Regions from separate parts of the Homo sapiens genome. Here region 2 is linked to region 1. Evidence: promoter capture Hi-C in human tissues and cell types (Jung and others, 2019). All regions are on one chromosome and are shown on one strand. The core of a region is centred on a gene start or on the middle of the fragment in contact, and the rest is flanking DNA. Distances in the headings are between cores, read along the strand shown. Region 1 holds the start of C3orf20 (chromosome 3 open reading frame 20). Region 2 overlaps C3orf20 (chromosome 3 open reading frame 20).

What was found. Contacts are between HindIII fragments. The study calls those that stand out against the background at their distance.
Region 2: a fragment that was not itself captured here is called in contact with the fragment with the promoter of C3orf20 in region 1 in 1 of the 25 tissues and cell types used here (ovary).

The regions. Positions count from the first base shown.
Region 1 is chr3:14,673,248-14,676,771 of GRCh38, forward strand. It overlaps C3orf20 (chromosome 3 open reading frame 20), which reads left to right and starts at 1,894. Exons shown (of 17, transcript NM_032137.5): 1 at 1,894-2,005. RefSeq lists an enhancer at 406-455. The HindIII fragment of the contact is 10,656 bases long and covers 1-3,524 here.
Region 2 is chr3:14,710,328-14,713,851 of GRCh38, forward strand. All of the region lies in intron 7 of C3orf20 (chromosome 3 open reading frame 20), which reads left to right. Among named protein-coding and RNA genes, the nearest start is that of C3orf20, 37 kb to the left of the region's middle. The HindIII fragment of the contact is 7,145 bases long and covers 1-3,524 here.

The sequences.
Region 1 (3,524 bases), core at 644-3,143:
GCACTTTGGGAGGCCAAGGCGGGCGGATCACGAGGTCAGGAGATCGAGACCATCCTGGCTAACACGGTGAAACCCTGTCTCTACTAAAAATACAAAAAATTAGCCAGGCGTGGTGGCAGGTGCCTGTGGTCCCAGCTACTCAGGAGGCTGAGGCAGGAGAATGGCATGAACCCAGGAGGCGGAGCTTGCAGTAAGCCAAGATCGCGCCACTGCACTCTAGCCTGGGCAACAAGAGCAAGGCTGTGTCTCAAAAAAAAAAAAAAAAACAATGAATAGACAAAGAAAGATGGAAAGAGGATGTGTGTGTAACCCAGAGCAGAAGGACTTGAGGCTGACTGTGGAGTAGAAAGGAGAAGGGAGACAGAGACAAGGCAGGCAGCAGGAAGAGCTGTAGGTGTGGGAGCCAGCATCACAAAGGGTCCATCCCAGGTGACCACATCCATGCCTGCAGCACCCGGGTGGACGGCGAAGCAGTTATGCTCGTTGGCTCATGGTCACTGTTATCTGAAGATAACTGTGAGTCACATTTTCTCTGGGATTTCAAAAACTAAATAAACCTATTTATAATCCCCTCTTAACAGTATAATTTAGTTCAGTGTTTTGTGAGCCCTTTTCTGTTTCAGATCCAGTTCTTTGAGTATTGACACACCATCACAGTCTTACTGTGACACGGGCCTGTCTTGTACCAGTGTATCCAGCAGATGGCATTAGAATTCTTAAATGTCAGCTCCATACTCTTAAAACAGCACACTCCAACAGAAATAAAAAATAAATCTGTGGCGCATGCCTGTAATCCCAGCTACTTGGGAGGCTGAGGCAGGAGAATCGCTGGAGCCTGGGAGGTGGAGGTTGCCGTGAGCTGAGATTGCGCCATTGCACTTCAGCCTGGGCAACGAGTGAAACTCCGTCTCAAAATTAAAAAAAAAAAAATAAGCCCAGAGTGTCATTTTCAATTTTCTAGCAACCATATTTAAAAAGTGAAATTATAACATATTTTATTTAACTCAGCATATCCAAAATATTTCAATATGTACTCAATATATGCAAATTATTAGTGAGATCTAAAATTATTCTTCACACTAAGAATTCAAAACTCACTGTGTATCTGGTTATAGCATAATTTGGATGCTAACGTTTCATCAGGAATACTTGATCTGTATTTAGATTTTGTAAAATATGCAGTTGAAAAACACAAATTCATATCCAAGTTGTTCCAAAGATAGTTAAACATAGTAAAGTTTTTCAGTAACTGAATTGAACATCAAGTTTGAAAAAATAAAACCCAGTTCCTTAGTCATGCTAACCTTATTTCAGGTGCTCAAAGGGCCCATGCATCTAGTGCTGCTGTCCTGGACAGAGCGGCTCTAAGTGATCTGCTTTTACACGCTTTATGGTCCGACTATACATAATCCTCCCATTAGTAACTAAAGTATTGGCCAATAAATTTTTCCCAGGCATACATTAAACATTCACAATACTCTGTGGCCATGTTTAACTTGGGAGCAAGTAGTGGCAAAACCTCCTATACAAAAACGTGACCACACCTCATTCATGCCTTTGTAGAGCTAAGCAAAATGCTTTAGATCAAAAATTGCCTTGAATTATTTACGTTCATTGTAATCTCTCCTCTAGGCCTTTGTGTGTTTTGATAGAGTTCGTTTGAATTGGCTCAATAAATCATTTTATTTGCTGCAGAATTCCCAAAGAACATTCAGATCCATATACATGAGATTCCTGCTGCGTTTAGCCATACATTTGCCAGACTTGTGATGTCGTTTATTCCCTGTGAAAGCTCAAGTGCAGCCCACAGGGAGGTTTTCAGCTGACCTTGTTGTGACATGCAGATGAGGTAGTAGAGTTTAGAATTTGGAACGGGGATGGGTACTGGTCTTTACAGTTAACACAACCTGGAGTAGCCCATGCCATACTGTGTCCTTTTAAGTCAGTAAATTGAACTAAGTCGGTTATTCGGCAAGCAGTTCCTATAAAAAACTACATGGCTAAGGTGAGTGATGATCACTGAAAGGAATTCATTGACCCACTGAAAAAATGAGAGTAGATGAAACTACTGCAGTCATCCTGCCTGCCCCTGTTAGCTGGCTGAGTGAGGTGTTTTGCCCCGGTGGGCTGTGGACATTATCTTCATGTTTAAAGTGTGTGTACTGGGGGCGAGAGGCCAGGAATGATATGATGGGTGTAGGTCATTGTCTAGGAAAACTAGAAAATCCAAATGTTCAAAGGAAGTAAGGTGTTGTAGTGAAAAGCTGTCACCTGGCCTATCGATGTTCTGTTATGGTGTTTCTTAGTAAATCCCAGGCTGCATCTATATAGTCACTCATAGTAAGTGTGTGTTTGTCCAGTGGTAGGAGTGGCCAGAAATATTGCATCTGTTCCACCCTCAATTGAAACAGCTTCTTTCTCCACTGTATTTCTTTTGTTTTTGTTATTTATTTATTTATTTATTTATTTTTGGAGATGGAGTCCCGCTCTGCTGCCTAGGCTGGAGTGCAGTGGCTCACTGCAACCTCCACTCCCCGGGTTCAAGTGATTCTCCTGCCTCAGCCTCCCGAGTAGCTGGGATTACAGGCATGCACCACCACGTCCAGCTAATTTTTGTATTTTTAGTAGAAATGGGGTTTCACCCATGTTGGCCAGGCTGGTCTCGAGCTCCTGACCTCAGATGATCTATCTGCCTCATCCTCCCAAAGTGCTGGGATGACGGGTGTGAGCCACTGCACCCGGCCCTCCACTACATTTCTAATTGCCACATTCTCCCTAAGTCTGAAAGCTCACATGCTTAGTAACAGTTTGGCCAGGTTTTAAGCATTTTCTGTGGGGTGTACTGCATTCCTTCCCCCTCCCCCCCGCCTTTTTTTTTTTGGTCATTATTCCCTGCGGTTGAACAGAGCACCTCCCCGCACCCCACCCCACACCAGCCTCTCCATGCACAGCCATAGTTGTTCACGGTTTTTGAAAATCAAAAAATACAAGAGTGGACCTTGCTCCCAGCCCAGGTCTCCCAGGTTGCAAGTGAGTCTGGTAACTGTGCCACTGTCTTTGCTGGGAACCCAGGTTTTATTGCTTTTCCAAAAATAATCACCTTTTCCTTAAAAAGAAAAGGCTTTGTATCTCTGTGTCCAACTTATGATCTGCACAGGTTTCCATGGAATGTGTAATCAGTGTATACACACCATTTGGTTCTTCTTTCTTTAACATTTCTAAAACCGAGCTTCCTAGTTATTTTTAATTGTTGCCTAATAGTTCATCAGCTTAATGTACATCATTATTTCACTATAGGGAATGAAGTGGCTATAAGCATCTTTTAGTATGGTTTAACAAACATCGATCTTTATACAGATAACTTCCCTGACACTCCTCCCCCCCATTTTGAAACTGTCCCCTGGGGTGCCACTTTCATAAGCAGGAAAACTGGGTCAAAGAGATGGTCAATTTTATGTTTCTTCATGGGTCTTGTCAGGAGACCCATCACAGTAAGGGCCCTTTGATACCACAGTGAATCTCCT
Region 2 (3,524 bases), core at 1,012-3,511, 37 kb after region 1:
CTATTCTCAATTCTGTTTTTCTCCACTCTGATTCTTTATTGCTTTCTTCCATCTGCTAGCTTTGCTTTAGTTTGCCCTTCTTTTTCTAGTTCCTTAAGGTAGAAAATTGGGTTATTGATTTGAGATCTTTCTTTTCATTTAATGTTGGTATTTACAGCTATAAATTTCTTTCTGAGTGTTGCTTTGCCTTTCTTCCATAAGTTTTGACATGTTGTGTTTTGTTTTCATTCATTTCAAAGTATTTTATAATTTCCCTTGTGATTTCTTTATCCACCTGTTGTTTGTGTGTTGTTAATTTTCATGTATTTGTGAATTTTCCCTATTTTCTTTTGTTAGTGATTTCTAGTTTCATTCCATTGTGACCAAAGGAGATACTTTCTATGGTTTAATCTTTTAAAATTTATTAAGACCTGTTTTGTGGCCTAACATATTGTCTGTACTGGAGAATGATCCATGTGAATGTGAGAAGAATGTGTGTTCTGCTGTTGTTGGGTGGGATTCTGTATGTTTCTGTTAGTTCTAGTTGGTTTGCAGTGTTGTTCAAGTCCTCTATTTCTTTCTTTCTTTTTCTTTTTTTTTTTTTTGAGGTGGAATCTCACTGTGTCACCCAGACTGGGGTGCAGTGGCGCAATCTTGGCTGGCTGCAACCTCTGCCTCCCGAGTTCAAGTGATTCTCCTGCCTCAGCCTCCTGAGTAGCTGGGATTACAGGTGTGCACCACCATGCCTGGCTAAACTTTTTTGTATTTTTAGTGGAGATGGGGTTTCACCATGTTGGCCAGGCTGGTCTCAAAACTCCTGAACTCAGGTGATCCATCCGCCTTGGCCTCCCAAAGTGCTGGGATTGCAGGCGTGAGCTACTGCAAGCGGCCTAAGTCCTCTATTTCTTTATTGATCTTCTGTCTAGTTGTTCTATCCATTATTGAACATGAGGTAGTGAAGTCTCCAACTATTTTTGTAGAACTATTTCTTCCTTTAATTCTGTCAGTTTTTAAATTTATATATATTGAGGCTCTGTTATTAGGTGTGTATATCTCTATAATTGTTACATATTCTTAAGGCATTCACCCTTTTCTCAATATGTAATGTCCTTCTTTGTCACTTGTAAAAATGTTTAACTTAACATCTATTTTGCATGGTTTTAGTATATTCACCCCTACTGTCTTTTGGTTACAATTTGCATAGAATATCTTTTTCTATCATTTCACTTTCAACCAAGTTGTGTCTTTGGATCTAAAGTGAGTCTCTTAGACACGGCATATGGTTGAATTGTTTTGGTTTTTAAAAATTTATCCTGCCAGCTTTTTTTTTTTTTTTTTTTTTTTTTTGAGACTGAGTCTCGCTCTATTGCCCAGGCTGGAGTGCAGTGGTGCAATCTTGGCTCGTTGCAACCTCCACCTCCTGGGCTCAAGCAATTCTCATGCCTCAGCTCTGGCCTTTTTGATTAGAGAGTTTAATCTATTTCTGTTTAAATTGCTGATACAGAAGGACTTAATTCTTTAGTTTTTCTATTTGTTTTCTATATGTCGTATACCATCTTTGTTTCTCAGTTCCTTCATTACTTCCACTTTTTGTGTCTGACTTTTTGTAGCATGCCATTTTGATTTACTTCTCATTTCCTTTTCTCCATATTTTTAAGTTATTTCCCTAGGGTTGTCTTGGTATAATGGGTTAAATGGTGTCTCTCAAAATTTGTAACCACATGGAACCTCAGAATATTACCACATTTGGAAATAGGGGCTCTGAAGATGTAATTTTTAAGATGCAGTCATATTCTTGGGGTGGGCCCTACTGCAATGACTGGTGTCCTTATAAGAAGAGAAAACAGACACACACACGCACACACACGCGCGCGCGCACACACACACACACACACACACACACACACACAGAAGAAAGCTATGTGGTGACTGAGGCAGAGATTGAAATGATGCATGTACAATCCAAAGAATACCAAAGATTTCTGGCAACCACCAGAAACTACAAGGGGCAAGGAAGGATTCTTCCCCAGAGCCTTCCAAAGCATAACCCTGTTGACACCTTGATCTTGGACGTTCAGCCTCTGGAACTGTAAGATTATAAATTTATGTTGCTTTTAGCCATCCAGTTTATCGTACTTTGTTATGATAGCCCTAGGAAACTAATTTACCTGTGTATTACAGTTAACACACTAGTTTGAATTAATAACTTAGTCACAATAATATATAAAACTCTGCTCCTATATAGCTGTATCCCTCCCCCTTTATGTTGTTATCAGAGAATAATGTTTTATAGATACATTGTGTGCCCATTAACATAGGTTTACAATTACTGTTTTATGCATTTATCTTTCAAATCATATAGGAAAAAAAGAAAAATTATATGCTGAAAATACAATACTGGATTTTATATTTACTTATATAGTTAACTTTACCAGTGTTCTTTTTTCTTTGTATGAATTTGAGTCACTGTCTAGTGTCCTTTCATTTCAGCCTGAAGGATTCCCTTCAGCATTTTTTTGCAGGGCAGGTCTACTAGTGATTAACTTCCTCAATATTTGTTTATCTGGGAATATTTTAATTTCTTCATTTTTGAAGAATAATTTTGCTTGATATAGAATTGTTGGTCAAAGTTTTATTTTTTTCCTTCGAGGTCTTTAGATATTTCATATTGCTGCCTTCTTAACCCCATGGTTTCTGATGAGAAATCAGCCATTAATCTTATTGAAGTTCTCTTATATAAGATTAATCTCTTTTTTCTTGCTGCTTTCAAGATTCCCTCTTTGTATCTGTCTTTTGACAGTTGAATTATAATGTGTCTCAATGAGAATATCTTTGAATTTATCCTACTTGGAGTTTGCTAAGCTTCTTGAACATGTATATTATTGTCTTTCATCAAATTTGGGGAGTTTTCAGCCATTATTTCTTTAGATATTCCTTCTACCCTAATTTCTCTTGTCTCTCCTTCTGGGACTCCTATTATTCATATGTTGGTATGCTTGATGGCCTCCCACAGGTCCCTGAGAATCTTCATTTTTCTTCATTTCCTTTTCTTTCTGCTTTCATTCTGAAATGCTTCTGTGTCTGGAGTACTGCTTGTGAAATTCCTGCACACAGGACAGTAGCTGCCCACACCATGTCCTCCTTAGTCAGGACCAGGGCTTCTTGGGGCCTCTTTACTAGAAAATGAACAAGGCGACATTACCTGTACTCCTTGATTGGTCAGAAGTGGGAGCAGCCTGATAGCATTAGAAATATTGCTGGCCTCAGAGATCAAATCCTGGCTCTAGCCACTTCCTTGTGATGTGACATGGGGCAGATAATTTTCTGCACTTTGGATTCCTCATCTAGGGTGACCAACTCATCCTGGTTTGCCTGGGACTTTTTAGGTTTTATACTGAAAGTTCCACGTCTCAGGAAACCCATTAGACCCAGGGGGACCCTACTCATCTGTGAGAGGAAGATAATACTACCTACCACAAGGTGGTTGTGAGAAAATAGAAGATACAGAAAAGCAGCTAGGTCATCGTTGGGTTCCATAATCATAT